5 separate regions of the Homo sapiens genome follow, and all the other regions are linked to region 1. The links are contacts of gene promoters, found by promoter capture Hi-C in blood cells and fetal thymus (Javierre and others, 2016). All regions are on one chromosome and are shown on one strand. The core of a region is centred on a gene start or on the middle of the fragment in contact, and the rest is flanking DNA. Distances in the headings are between cores, read along the strand shown.

Region 1 (2,868 bases), core at 223-2,722:
GAAGACTTGGCCTTGAGCCGTCAGGGAGTGTTGCCCAGGGTGGGGCCACCCATGCTGGCTGGGACCCACTCAGACTGCAGTGTGGCCGGACCTCTGGAGCTGTGGGACTCTGGGTGGGACATCACCCTCTAGGAGGCTCAGCCATCTCATAGGAATAGGGGGGAGTGTATGAAACCCCCGGTCTGCTTATGGAGAGAGTTTCTGCACCAACCTGGCCCTCGGGGGCCCCTTCTACCAATATGCCTATTATCAGGGTGTCCATTAAGCACCCCCAGGCCAGGGGACCCCCTCAGGGCACTGAAATGCTCAATGAACAGAGAAAGCAACAGGACAAATAAAAGAAAAATGGGGTGGGCGCAGTGGCTCACGCCTGTAATCCCAGAGCTTTCGGAGGCCAAGAGGGAAGGATCGCTTCAGGCCAGGAGTTCAAGACCAGCCTGGGCAACATAGTGAGACCCCTATCTCTACAAAATATCAAAAAAATTAGCCGAGCATGGTGGTGTGCTCTTGTAGTCCCACCTACTCAGGAGGCTGAGGCAGGAGGATTGCTTGAGTCCAGGAGTTTGAGGCTGCAGTGATCTATGATTGTGCCACTGCACTCCAGCCTGGGCGACAGAGTGAGATATTGTCTCTTAAAAAAAAGAAAACAGAAAACTGGAGGTGACTCTGATGAGGAAGAACTGAAAAATGAGACCTCCATTCCACCCTGGCCTCACACACACACATCCATCCCCACCAGGCCTGGCCCAGCCCAAGAATTCTCTAGTAGATCTGCCAAACAGAGCCCACACCTGCCCTGGAAAGCCCCTCCTGTGTCTAGTGCAGCCCCAGCAGCCCCAGCTCGGCCTCAGAGGCTGCCACTGTCCATCTGGGGCCCGCCATATCTGAACAGCTGCCAGGGCCGGCAGTGCTGGGTTCAGGCAGTGAGCCCACGGGTCCCCAGGGGCTGGAGAGCTTAACTGTCCCTGGAGCTGGCCTCAGGCCTTCAGCCCCGGGTACAGCTGATCCCCTGCCTTTGGGGAAGGGAATATCATAATAATAATAAGAAGAGCAGCTAATATACAACACAGAAGGTCAGGCCATGTCTTAAAACACGTGTCCTCACATTCAATCCATATCCCATTTTCCAGATGAGGAAACTGAGGCACGCATGGGTTAAGTCACTCACCCAAGGCAGATAAGAAGTGGGGCCAGAGGCCAGGCACAGTGGCTCATACCTGTAATCCCAGCACTTTGGGAGGCCGAGGAGGGAGGATCACTTGAGGCCAGGAGTTTGAGACCAGCCTAAGCAACATGGTGAAACTCTGTTTCTACAAAAAAATTTTTTTTAATTAAAAAATTAGTCAGGCATAGTGGTGAAGTGAAAAAGTTCCCTTATCCCGTTCATAGGGCATGCGATGGGGGTGTGGCTCGCTTCTTCCATGCCCAGCTGCTCAAACCTCTAGGCGGACCATGCAGACAGGCAGGCTATGGGGCTCCGACCCCACGGCAGTGTCTAGGGGTGGATGCTTACAGCTCCTGAAGCCCCAGTGGGCGTGTGTTACAGGATGCTCTTTTACTTTTGCCATCTGTAGGTGGCTTGTGTTCATCAGCTCAGTTAGACCCTCTGCCTTATTGCAAGGACAAAGGGCTTTTTGTATCCTGGGGTTCTTGCCTTGGTGTACTGTGAAAATTGAATCACATGTGGGCTTGGAGAATGAGTGCGAGGTTTTATTGAGTGGTGGAAGTAGCTCTCAGCAGATGATGGGGAGCCAGAAGGGGGATGGAGTGGGAAGGTGATTTTTCCCCTGAAGTCAAGGTGCTCAGCAGCCAGACTCTCCTCTGACCATCCCCAGCCAAATTCCCCTGGGCATTTGTGTTATTCAGCCAGTCGATGGCCTGCCAGCATCTGCCAGTGCTGTCGGTGTGCTCTTCCGATCCTCTGCTCCTCTTGATGTCCAGCCACCTGTGTGTGTACCCACTGGGGTCTCAGGGTTTTCATAGGCACAGGATGGGCGGGGGGGCGGGGGGCGTGGTGGGCCAGGGTGGTCTTGGAAAATGTGACATTTGGGCATATAAACAGGAGTGCCTGTCCTCACCTAGGTCCGTGGGCACAGGCCCAAGGGTGGAGCCCTTGCCAGGGACCCTGCCTTTCTCCTCTCAGCACTTCCCTGTCCCCCCTCCTGTATCAGTGGCACATGCCTGCAGGCCCAGCTACTTAGGAGGCTGAGGTGGGAGGATCACATGAGCCCAGGAGGTTGAGGCTTCAATGAGCTGTGATTGCACCACTGCACTCCAGCCTGGACAACAGATCAAGGTCTCATTTCTAAAACAAAAAAAAAAAAAAAAAAAAAGAGAGAGAGAGAGGGAGGGCCAGGACAAGAGCCCCTCTTTCTAGTGTTTCCAGAAGGAAGCTTCCAAAAGGTTCTGCTCATCCAAACTCTCCCCTCCTCCTGCTCCCTCCCAGTCATCCCTGACTACAGCTATTTCTGATGTCCCTAAACTCCTGTGACTGAGTGCTCCTCCCAGAGCTGGGGCCAGGTCCAGCCATGATGCTGTGCAGCCCGCTTTCTGCAGCAGGAAACCGTGTGCCTCAGTTTCCCCGACAGGGCTGCTCTCCTGGTGTCCTGGCGTTCCTCTCCGGGGAGAAAAACCACACGTTCCACAGGTGTTCAACAAGCCAGGCGGAAAGGAGAACCCAGCTCTGGGGACGGGAGCCTGGATTCCAGTCCCAGCCGCCTGGACCTGCTACAGAAGGGGGCCTGTGTGACCGCGACAGTGGCTAGGGTGCAGGCTTTCCATGCCCGGTCTGTGAGCCTGGCCCTGGGGCCTCCTGGCTCTGGGCTTACAGAGTGGGTAGCAGACCTATAACTCCTGCTTCCTGCCTCT
Region 2 (2,868 bases), core at 223-2,722, 630 kb after region 1:
ACTGTAGCTCTTGGGTGTCTCTTGTCTCTGGCATGGTTTTAGCGTCACTGCGAACACTCCTTTGCAAACATCAAACATCTCAAAGACGGAAAAGGATAGATGGCTTCCTCCAGCCTACACGCCCCGTCCACAGTGGCATCACCCTCTTATCCCAAAAGAATATGCCAGTTCCCATCCAGCACCGAAGAAAATCAGCTCCTGGGGCTGGTGGTTGGAGGTGGGTCTGTCCACTGTGGGGGCCAAAGTGTTCCCCTGCTGGAGACAGTTTGCAAGTAAGAACCTAAGGATGGGGACAGCATCCTGTGCTTGGGCATTGACCAGCCAAAGCTCACATTTAGAAAGCCCTCAGTGCTTCTGTGGTTTCACCTGGGCATCGACGACATTAGGGAAGCCTTTGTGACCACAAGGGCAGGGCTTGTGCCCTGAGTGGCGAGGTGGTGACCTGAGGCCAGTGTGATGTGGTTGGATCTCAGCGTGTACTGAATGCCAGTCTGGCCGGCACACTCGAACGCTAAGAGAATGGTCCAATTTGATGATCTTATTTCTATTTCGATCAGGTTTTGACTTTTTGTAGATGAAAACTACCAGGGAAAAGGGGAAGCAGGTACCCAATAAAGTTTAGAAAGATCCAGTCTGTGAAACCCTTAGAGATGGGCTGAAAGTTAAGTCCACCAACCCTTGGGCTTAATCAGGACGGAAGAGGAGGGGGTGTGGGGGGCAGAGCGTAAAACAAGCCCCAGCCCTACTCCCGGCCCCCCAGCCCAGTCTTCCCAATCCCAGAGGCCCCGGCGGCCTGTGCTCCTCACCACCCTGGTCAGGGGAATAGAAGGAAATGCAATTTCCGCCTGTCTGCCCGACTTCCAAAAACTGCCTCCTCCTGCCCAGGCCTCTCCCACCACCACCTTCCCTCCAAAGATAACCGTGTCCATGCCATCCGTGGCATCATCTCGAGTTTTCATTTTTGGATGAAGTGACATTTAGCTTTAACAAGACATTTCCAAAGCGCCTAGTCTCCTCCAAAATGCTAACTTTAAAAGTTGGGCATTGTAGGCGAAAAATCCCAAAAAAAAAAAAAGACAAAAAAAAAAGGCTGGCGAGAGAAAGACATTTGGCTATGCATAAATGTGCACTTCCCCCATGCCCCCGTTCTTAAACTCTTAAGATGCCTTTGAGTTGCTTTTCATGAATCCTTTTAGTTTACCCGATAATGTTAAGAAAGCATTAGTCTACGTTACTGTAATTTCTGTAGTGTTTACGCTTTAATTTCTACCACAAAATATGCTATATGCTATGTATCAAGCTTTCTGTAATCAGAAAGAAAAGGTGCCTTATATCCCAATGTCACGGCTACATCCCTATGGAAATTAATCAGAAGCACAGTGTGTACGGAAGCATTGGGACTTCTGCTGGTGAAACAAGAGACCATTCAGCAAGACACATTGAAGTGGCACGGAGCTGCTTTTGTTTTATAATTCTTTTTTCCCCCCTTTTCCTTCTTCTTTTTTATTATTTTATTATTTTTTTTGTACTTTGCTTTAAACGGAAAGCACTTAAATAGATGACTATGTGTAAAAGCTCTGTGCAATTGAAATCATTTTTCTTCATTTTAAAAAAATAACGTATTGCACACCAAATGAACTCAAAGTAAGCTTTAGACCAGGACGATTCAGGTTATGAATGAGTTTGTTCACTGTAGTTCCGTTTGTTCATGAACCGAAGGGAAAACAGGCCTCCCCGACTCCCTCCAGTCTCCCAGCCTGCCTCTTGGTGACCACTGTGCTGGGCGTGCAGGGCCCGCGGGCTCTGGCCGGAGCCGCTGGCCTGACGAGGCAGGATAGGGAGTATCCGTGATTCAGAAGCTGAGACCCTTCCCCAGTGTCTGAGGCCACAGCCATCCCTTCCAGCACTTAATCTTGTCTTGTTGAAATGGACTGACTGCTACTGACCTGCCGGCGTGCGTGAGGGTGATTATAAAAGGATGTTTCCTTGAGAAAAAAAAAATTATTTCTATCCTCTTCTATTTATTATTAGGTTAATCATTTAAGTACTTATCAGGAGTGTATTGTTATTTTGTGTTTTGTTGTCATAAATGCTTTTTGCTGTCACTCTAGTGGTTACTATCCTCTGCCTTCCTCTCCTCCCCTACTCCCCCAGAGAACCAAGGCGTCTGGGGGATTGACTGGGGGGCAGAGGGGGTTTCCCCAGCAAAATCAAACACCTGTCTCCAGAGTAGCCACTCAAAAACTGGTGGTCTCTATGTGTCTAACTTTTTAAATGAGAGTGTTTATGAACAAAAAAATTTACCAACGTGTGAGGGAGTTGCTGAGTTGAAGAATGCTCGCTTGAGGAGCTTCAGAGGAATCTTAGCAAAGCCAAGTTCAGTTCCCCAAAGCCTCCTAGAGCCTCTGGTAAGACTTCTGGGTTCATGAAGTTTCGGCGAGCCGTGGTCAGAGAGGGCGCGGTGGCCTGGCCAAGACTTTACCTCCAAGCGAGAGAGTGATTTCTTGCAAGGCCCGCATGGGTTGATACGTTTTGGTTGGTTTTTTGTTGTTGTTTTTCTTGCGTACAAAGTTGGTCAAAACCATCTTTCAAAGCAACAGTGTTTTGTAGTACCAGGCTGTGGCTTGAGGGCTCACCTAGGAGATCATAGGCAGAGGGCCCCTTTCCCCTATAGGTGGTTCAACGTGGAGGAAGGTTGGGTGTGGAGATTGCTTGCTGTGGCCCCAAGCTCAGCCAGCAGGACACCCAGTTGTTGCCAATCAGGTGTGAAGGTGAGGCGCCCTGCCTTGATCCCATGGGCCCAGCAGAAGGAAACTTACCCCAGGCCAAGGCAAGGGCCCTGCTCACCCCAAGGTAGGCTGGGAAGAG
Region 3 (2,868 bases), core at 112-2,611, 580 kb after region 1:
TGTTTGCTCAGAGTGTGGCCTTCTTATCATTTAGCAATTTATTGTATCTTATTCTATTTATTTTATTTATTTTTTATAGACAGACGGGGACTCACTCTGTTGCCCAGGCTGGAGTGCAGTGACACAATCACAGCTCAATACAGCCTCAATCTCTCAGGCTCAAACAATCCTCTCTCCTCAGCCTCCTGAGTAGCTGGGACTTATAGACACTTTCCACCACACTCAGCTAATTTTTTTATTTTTTGTAGAAGTGGGTCTCTCTTTTTTATTCGTTTTTGTTTTTGTTTTTTGAGATGGAGTCTCGTTCTGTCACCTGGGCTGGAGTGCAGTGGCGCGATCTCGACTCACTGCAACCTACACCTCCGGGGTTCAAGTAATTCTCCTTCCTCAGCCTCCCAAGTAGCTGGGATTACAGGTGCCTGCCACCACACCCAGGTAATTTTTGTATTTTTAATAGAGATGGGGTTTCACCATGTTGGCCAGGCTAGTCTCCAACTCCTGACCTCGGGTGATCCTCCCACCTTGGCCTCCCAAAGTGCTAGGATTACAGGTGTAAGTCACCACACCCGGCCTTTTTTATTCTTTATTTCCAAATACCCAAGTAACCTGGTCTCTGTTGCCAGGGCTGGTCTCAAACTCCTGGCCTCCCAAAGTGCTGGGATTACCGATGTGAGCCACCATACCCGGCCACTTTGTAACTTTTTAATGTGGGAGCGTTTCATTGCTGTGGCTAACAAGCTGTTACGTCTGCATTCACACTGGCTTCAGGTGTATTATGGCTATCCAGGTGGAAGGATGGTCCCCTGCCCTTGGCTGAATCGTGAAATACCCAGCTCTTTCCTGGCGTGTTAGGAATGATGGGTTCCAAGCCTTCTCTGCTGCCTGTTGCTGTTCCCAGTCAGCCAACAGAGTATCAGTTGCCTCTTTGAGAAGACAGCTGCTATGGTCTGTCTCTAATGTGGGTGGTCCAATGTGTGCCCCTCTTTGACGTGAAGCCCACGGGGCCGTGGGCTGTCCATGACCTTGTACAACCAGGAGATTCCCCTTGGCTGCAGCCCCTATCGCGGACAGGTCCACGTTCCTTTTGAATGTGCATGCGTATCATGGTCATGGCTCTTAGCTGGTTCCCACCAGACAGCCAGGAACACGTGTCCAGGGCTCGTGAGCTTTGAACTCTGCAGTAAGATTCTAAAGCAGTGTCCTTGATAAGCAGTCAGTCGGCTCTCCCACATTCATGGCTAACAGTCAGTGTCGGGGGCATGTGGATAGCATGTTCATAGGGACAGGAGAGGCTGATTGCACCCCTGGGCATTCCACAGCACTGTCTAAAGCAGGCAGGGGCCAGGCGCGGTGGCTCACACCTGTAATCCCAGCCCTTTGGGAGGCCGAGGTGGGTGGATCACTTGAGGTCAGAAGTTTGAGACCAGCCTGGCCAACATGGTGAAACTCGGTCTCTACTAAAAATATAAAAATAAGTCAGGCATGGTGGCTTGCACCTGTGATCCCTGCTACTCAGGAGGCTGAGGCAAGAGTATCACTTGAACCCAGGAGGTGGAGGCTGCAGTGAGCAATGATAGCATCACTGCACTGCAGCCTGGGTGACAAAGCGAGACCCTCTCCGCCCGCAAAAAAAGAATACCTCTTCAATTGGAGACATTAAAGAATCAGCTTTTCGGCTGGGCGCAGTGGCTCACACCTGTAATCCCAGCACTTTGAGAGGCCGAGGCAGGTGCATCACCTGACGTCAGGAGTTCGAGACCAGCCTGGCCAACATGGGGAAACCCCGTCTCTAGTAAAAATACAAAAATTAGCCAGGCGTGGTGGTGCACACCTGTAATCCAGCTCCTTGGGAGGCTGAGGCAGGAGAATTGCTTGAACCCGAGAGACCCAGGTTGCAGTGGGCCGAGATTGCACTATTGCACTCCAGCAGGGTGACAAGAGTGAAACTCCATCTAAAAAAAAAAAAAAAAAAAAAAAAACTCAACCTGATCTCGGCTGAGCTAAGATGCAAAGGGACTGGCTGTGCCACTGTGAACCCTTCCAGAGGCAGGTGAGGCAGGCCGCGCGGGAGCAGCACGGGAAGTCCCGGCTGATGAGATGAGGCTGGGGGGCCGCCCCAAGAGCCACAGGAGGAAGGGCACATGCGCTTCTCAAAAGTTCCTTGATGTGTGATGTATAGGGATCACTCAGGGACCTTGCCGGAAAGCCCCTTTGTCACTGTGCGTGACCTGCTTGTTCAGTTCCCCAAGCGCCTCCAGATGCTTGTGGGATTCAAGATGGGGGCTGGCCACATGTTGCTGGAACCAGCACCCTGTGACATTTATGCAGGAGAACATGGGTATTTGAAGGGTCTTTTGTTCCTAGGACAGCCCTGCCTGGGGGACCCTGCACACACAGATCCTGCACAGATGTCAGGGGCAGCCAGTGCTGAGTACCACAGCCCACTTTAGGTTTTGTTTCAAAGCAACAAACGTCGCTGTCATCAAGTGAGCAAGGCAGCCTACGCAGGCTGCCAGCACCGCCCCAGCACCCTGCAGTCCCACCTTCCAGCACCACTCGTCACACACCCTTGGGGAAGGCTGCTTTGCCAGAACTCGGCCCCCCAAAGTCTCTGTTCCTAGAGCAGAATTTGTCCCTGTGCCTCACCCAAAGAGAGGGAAGTCATAGCCCAGAGTCACCGATTTATTTGACTTTTTTGTTTTTATTATGATTTGCAGGATTTTTTCCAAGAAGTAAAATGCACCATAGTTACAAAATGCAAGCATTCAAACTTACAGTCTTTTTAAGAAATCGGTCACCATCCCTCCCTCATCTTCCTGTCACACACCACCCCCACCCCCACACCCCACCCCACCACCATCCCCAGTT
Region 4 (2,868 bases), core at 214-2,713, 560 kb after region 1:
CAGGGCTAATGATGGCATTCTCAGTTCTCAAGCTTCAAAGTTCCTTTCTCGGCCAGCAGCCCCCACCTCTGCCTCCTCACCCTGAGCCTGCTTTGGCACTCTGGAGCTCCCAGGTCCTGGTCTTTACCTGTCCCCCCACATCCATAATGCTCCAGGCTCACTGACCTCCCCTGCAAGCCTGGAGCCTGTGGTCAGACCCTCTACGTTCATACAGCTCCCCTGGATCGTCAGCCATTCCAAGCCTTCCCACTGGCATGCCCGCCTCACTCCTAGGTTATTAAGCACTGCAAACGAAGGTTGCCTAGGGCATGGTGACCAGCCCCACAGGTCCCCCGTGCTTCTCGCGGCTGGAGCTCTGCTGGTTCGAGGCTTCCTCAGGGGTTCCTCCCTGCCCTTGTCACTGTTACCCCAACCACTATCCACAGATGCCCTAGCCCTCTGCTAGGGACAGACTCCCGCCTCTGGTCTTGGGTGCCACCTCCCATCTCTGCAGGCTGCCCCCTCTGCCTAGACCTTGAGTCCCTTCCTTCCTGCCCCTCCTGCTGTCCCATCAGCCCCTTTCTCTCTTGCTGCTATTTTCCATTTCTCCTTTTAAGATGAGCCTACACCCACTCACCACGTTTTCTTTGTGTTGTTAATTCCATTCTGCTAAGAAAAGCTCCTCGGGCATCCTCTTGAACCATCTCACTTCCATGACCAGCTGCCTTCTCTCGCCTGGGACCCCCAGCCTCCCTGGCGTCTGCTGGCCCTGGTAGTCCCTGTCCCCACCATGCTCTCCCCCTGAGCGGTCTCATCCCCTCTCCAGCTGCAAAGCCTCTGCCGGCACCTCCTCGGACAGACCCCTACATCCCTCTAACAGTTCCAGCCTCTGTAACTTACTTACTTGCTTGCTTACTTATTTATTTATTTGACAGAGTTTAGCTCTTGTTGCCCAGGCTGGAGTGCAATGGTGCTATCTCGGCTCACCGCAACCTCCGCCTCCCGAGTTCAAGCGATTCTCCTGCCTCAGCCTCACAAGTAGCTGGGATTACGGGCATGAGCCACCACCCCGGGCTAATTTTGTATTTTTGGTAGAGATGGGGTTTCTCCATGTTGGTCAGGCTGGTCTCAATCTCCCGACCTCAGGTGATCCACCCACCTCAGCCTCCCAAAGTGCCGGGATTACATGTAACTTATTATTAAACATTACCTGGTTAACCTTCTCTACCTGCCTCTCCTATCCCATTCTTTCCTTCCTTTCCCTCTTCTTCCCTCTTCCAAAAAGAAAAAGAAATTGGGCCTTTTAATTTTGAGCCAGAGAAACTGCTGCGAAGGCCTTTGCCCAGCCTCACCCTGGGAGTTAGTCGTCGTCTTCATTGTCGTCTTCGTTGTCTTCTTCTTTCTTCCTCTCTTCTTCTTTCTTCCTCCTCCTCTTCTTCTTTCTTCCTCTTCCTCTTCTTCTTCCTCTTGCTCCTCCTCCTCCTCCTCTTCTCCCCCAACCCCCACGTTCACTTCATCCCCTGGGAGCTGAGGCTTCCAGGCTCCAGCCTGCAACACATACCGTTCTACTCCCTCTCATCCACAGCCTGCCGGACCACAGGCTGCCCCTACCCCCACTGAAGGGCTGCCACACCAGCCCCGCTTGTCACTGCATTTCTGCTAACTCTTTCTGTTGCGTCCGCACATGACAGGCCCCACCACCATGTGCACATCTGGAAGCCCCACTCAGGTGGCTTCTTTGCCCAAATGCGCTCCTAGTTTTCCACTTCCTGGTGAACCAGCTGTGCTCTTGAGCTCTTGCCCGCGTCCCCTTCTCAGCATCGTCCCATTTCCACTTCCTCACCCCCACGCAACAGGGGATGCTGACCTCAGATCCTCATGCACTGCAGCACAAGACACCCTGTCCCTTCAGGGCCCTTCTCCAATGCTTGTTCATCATGACACTGAGACGTGGTCTCCAATCCATCAAGATCCCTCCTGCTGGGGTCCTCACAAGTTCTGTCTTAATGGACCACTTGGAGTCTTGCCTATTACCTGTAATGGCCTGTAAATTTCCTGGAGTACGGACCAGGAGTGGTTCTGATTCCCCACGGCAACAAGCGGATAGCAGGCTGCTGGTAAAGATCTGTAGAATAGATAAAGAGCCACGTGGTCTTTTATTACATAATCCTAAAGAAAATAGGAAACGAAGGACAGGATTCCATCTTAAGAAACCCCTTTCAGCTGGGCGCAGTGGCTCACATCTGTAATCCCAGCACTTTGGGAGGCCGACAGATCACCTGAGGTCAGGAAACCAGCTTGGCCAAAACCGTCTCTACTAAAAATAAATTATCCAGGTGTGGTGGCTCACACTAGGGGGACAGAGGCCGAAATTGTGGCTGCAGGAACATGGCGAAGGTCCGGTTGACTCTGCACCTGCGAGTCGTAAATCTCACGGTCCAGCCAGCCTGCTCTGGGTCTCTCTCTTCCATCCTTGGTATTTCAAAGAAACACTTGCAGCTCCTTCAAAGCCACATAGCCTCACTTCCCCTCTTCTCCCTGGTAAACTCAGCAAAAAAGGGACATCCACAGCAAAAGGAACTCAAGAAACAGTAATAATCCTGGGGACCTGGACTCACTGAGACAGCCCAGAGACCGTAGTGATCAGGGTGCGGCCCTTTTCAGTGCCATTGAGAACAAGGGAGGGAGAAGTCACCTTCTCTTGCCACATCTTTGTCATTGCACTCCTTCCCCAACCTGGGGCTGCAGAGAAGGTCTGCCCACCTGGCTTCTGAGTCATCCAAGTCTAGGAGGTTGCTCTTTGCCTATGTCCCCTGGTCCCCAGGTAGGTGCCAGTTAGGAGTGAGGTGTGGGCAGTGGCCGCCCTGGTGGGTTCCCCTCTCTCTGGCT
Region 5 (2,868 bases), core at 194-2,693, 530 kb after region 1:
AAGTGCTGAGATTACAGGCACATGCCACCACACCCAGCTAATTATTGTGTTTTTAGTAGAGACGGGGTTTTGCCATGTTTGCCCAGGCTGCTCTTGAACTCCTGGGCTCAAACGATCCACCCACCTCTGCCTCCCAAAGTTCTGGGGTTACAGGCATCAGCCACCATGCCCAGCCAGGAAGCTTATTCCCAGTGGTCTGGCTCTCCAGAGTTGCCACGCTGAAAGATGCTTGCTCTGGAGAGAGTGAGCTCCCTGTCACCAGAGCTATGCAAGCAGATTCAGGCCAGCCCTCCCAGAGAGCATGAGATGGGGAATCACGCACAGAGTGGACCGAAGGAGGGATTGAACAAGAAGGCTCAAAGGGTCCCTTTTGACCCTGAAGTCTAGGATTTCGTGAAGCTACAGGTGAACCCATTGGCATGAGAAGCATCCAGGGAGGAAAGATGCAAGCCCTTGGAATATCGAGAGAATATTTCCAGCAGGAAAAGAAGTGGAAGGTTAAAGGAAAGCCAGAGAAGGGGACGTTGCCCTGGGCCATCAACTAAGAGAAAAGCTGCCCAGAGCCAGGCATGGTGGCGGCGGTGCCTATAGTACCGGCAGTTGGAGAGGCCGAGGCAGGAGCATCACTTGAGCCCATGAGTTTGAGACCAGCCTGGGCAACATAGTGAGACTTTTTTCTCTACAAAAAAGTTTAAAAAAAAAAAAATAGCCAGGTGTGGTGGTGTGCACCTGTGGTCCCAGCTAACCCAGGAGGCTGAGATGGGAGGATCTCTTGGGCCCGAGAGTTCAAAACCAACACCAGAGATGCGGGTCAGAGAGTGGGCTGGTAGGACGGGACCTGGCCAGGCCTGTGGGAGGGTCTGAGTATGAAGGATTCATCCTGGGAGCAGTGAAGAATCGTAGGCGGGATTGAGACATCAGGTTTGAGTTCTAGAAGGATCTCTCTGGCTATACATTGGAGAACAGATGGGAGTGGAAAGACCAGAAGCCAGGAGAGCTGTGGGAGGCTATTGTGTAAGTATGGGGAGAGATGGCATGGGCCTGAGCTGAGGCCATCCCTGCGGAGGTGAGCTGGAGGCGGGCTGGGCAGGAAGAGGAGGGCGCAGACACAGTCCAACACTGGTGCAGGTGGCAGGCATCTGGACCAACACCTTTCCCATCAGGAAACCCCCCAGGAGGAGCAATTTACTAGCTCACTGGCATACAACATTCGTTTTCCCTGGGTGTGTAGTTAGAATGTTCTACGGAGACCTGAAGTGCTCGTTTATTGCTCAACCACTGTGCTCCTGTTATGGAGAAGTAGCAGAGGGGTCGGCACCTGTCAGTTATGTCCGAGCCTCATTCACACCTGTTTGTTGAACATCAGGGCACTGGCATAAATACTCACTGTCCCAATTGGTGACAGTAAAGGATCAGATCTCTTGAGACTTCATGGTCAATAAGAAGCCACAGCTTTACACTTTGAACTGCATGTGAAACCCCGTCCCGTCCGGGGGCTTTCAGCAATTCACAGCCTTTTTGTGGTGAAAAAAAGTGGCCCGCCCACCACCCCTCCGGGGCCTCCTTTCTGAGCAGTGGTGATCCGAGTTGCTGGTGGGTCTCAAACTCCTGGGCTCAAGCTATCCTCTCGCCTTGGCCTACCAAAGTACTGGGACTACAGGCATGAGCTACTGCGCCCGGCTTTGAAGCCAGCATTTCTTTACTACCTACGAGGCCTGCTCAGAGTCCGTGCTCAAAAAGATGTATTGAATGAATATGGGCTTTGACGCACAGGCTGGAGCGCAGTGGCATGTTCTCCTAGCCCACAGTGGGGCTGGGAGGGAGTCATTGAAGTGAGCTGCCCTCTTCCTGTTCACCTGCCTGGTGTTTATGTCACAAGACTGCCCTAGTGGAGGACTCTCCAGGTTGAGGTTAGGGGTTGGAAACCACAGCTGACCCTCACCACGGAGAGTGGGTCTCCATGGAGGCCTTGGCCACTGGTGCAGCATCAGCGTGGGACACGTGGTGGTCAGCATTTGGTCTCCAGCTGTGGTAGCTGTTCCCGACCTCCTTCCTGCAGAGTCAGTGACATGGAGTTACCTCTGGGAGTCGAGATGTTCACTGTAATTGCATGCTGCGGGTAGGGCAGCAGGGCCTTAGCCCATCATCAGCTCCTGGGTCTACTTTGTTCCTCGGGGGACTTGCTCATCTCTGGTGTCCTCAAGCCTGAGTTTTAATGGCCATGCAAGCAGAGAACAAGAGACAAAACCTGGGGCCAAGAAGGGGGTGGAAGATTGGATCAGAGAAAACCCCCCTCCCCCGCCATATAAAACCAGGGACTTCAAAGGCCACACTCTGAAAGTGTAAACTGGCAGGGTGGGGGAAGGAGTCTGCCCTTAAAGGGGAGACGGTGAGGGTTCTCTCTTGTTGGTTCCAGAGGGAGAAGAAAATGAGCCTCCCAAGAGAATTCCTAACCACAGCCACCTCTCCACAGGTCTGGGGCCATGTCGCACATGAGACCCCCCAGCCCTCTCCCCACACCTTCGCCCCACCAGGCTGCAGCTGGCCCAAGGCCCTGTCTTTATCCTCTGCAAGCCCACCCCTCTCTGTGTCCTTCCCATGATGCCTTACCACGTTTTATGAGTCAAATTGTTCAGACTTTAGAGGCCTGGAAGTAGCTGTCTACATCCTGTATTCACATCCCAATCGGGCACTGCGGTTAGGGGAAAGCTTTTTTTTTTTTTTTTTTTTGAGATGGAGTCTCACCCTGTGACCCAGGCTGGAGTTCAGTGGCGTGATCTTGACTCACTGCACCCTCCCCCTCCCAGATTCAAGCAATTCTCATGCCAATTCTCATGTCTCAGTCTCCCAAGTAGCTGGGACTACAGG

Evidence for each region. The method cuts DNA at HindIII sites, captures the fragments that hold promoters and counts their contacts. A CHiCAGO score of 5 or more calls a contact.
Region 2: a fragment that was not itself captured here is called in contact with the fragment with the promoter of MYL10 in region 1 in 15 of 17 cell types (total CD4 T cells, fetal thymus, M1 macrophages and 12 more); the score reaches 15.0 in total CD4 T cells.
Region 3: a fragment that was not itself captured here is called in contact with the fragment with the promoter of MYL10 in region 1 in 4 of 17 cell types (fetal thymus, activated CD4 T cells, monocytes and 1 more); the score reaches 8.5 in fetal thymus.
Region 4: a contact is called between a fragment that was not itself captured here and the fragment with the promoter of MYL10 in region 1, in 3 of 17 cell types (naive B cells, endothelial precursors and non-activated CD4 T cells). The highest score is 5.9, in naive B cells.
Region 5: a contact is called between a fragment that was not itself captured here and the fragment with the promoter of MYL10 in region 1, in 1 of 17 cell types (M0 macrophages). The highest score is 6.1, in M0 macrophages.

Annotation. Positions count from the first base shown.
Region 1 is chr7:101,627,824-101,630,691 of GRCh38, forward strand. MYL10 (myosin light chain 10) reads right to left here and starts at 1,473. Exons shown (of 8, transcript NM_138403.5): 1 at 1,218-1,473. The coding sequence starts at 1,295. The HindIII fragment of the contact is 16,008 bases long and covers 1-2,391 here.
Region 2 is chr7:102,254,324-102,257,191 of GRCh38, forward strand. CUX1 (cut like homeobox 1) reads left to right here. Exons shown (of 24, transcript NM_181552.4): 24 at 1-2,868. Among named protein-coding and RNA genes, the nearest start is that of SH2B2, 31 kb to the right of the region's middle. The HindIII fragment of the contact is 349 bases long and covers 1,299-1,647 here.
Region 3 is chr7:102,209,825-102,212,692 of GRCh38, forward strand. All of the region lies in intron 20 of CUX1 (cut like homeobox 1), which reads left to right. Among named protein-coding and RNA genes, the nearest start is that of SH2B2, 76 kb to the right of the region's middle. RefSeq lists an enhancer at 1,961-2,270. The HindIII fragment of the contact is 5,067 bases long and covers 1-2,868 here.
Region 4 is chr7:102,190,344-102,193,211 of GRCh38, forward strand. The region is part of intron 12 of CUX1 (cut like homeobox 1); the gene reads left to right. Among named protein-coding and RNA genes, the nearest start is that of SH2B2, 95 kb to the right of the region's middle. The HindIII fragment of the contact is 2,866 bases long and covers 31-2,868 here.
Region 5 is chr7:102,162,641-102,165,508 of GRCh38, forward strand. The region is part of intron 9 of CUX1 (cut like homeobox 1); the gene reads left to right. Among named protein-coding and RNA genes, the nearest start is that of SH2B2, 120 kb to the right of the region's middle. RefSeq lists enhancers at 445-1,340, 1,341-2,234. The HindIII fragment of the contact is 2,528 bases long and covers 180-2,707 here.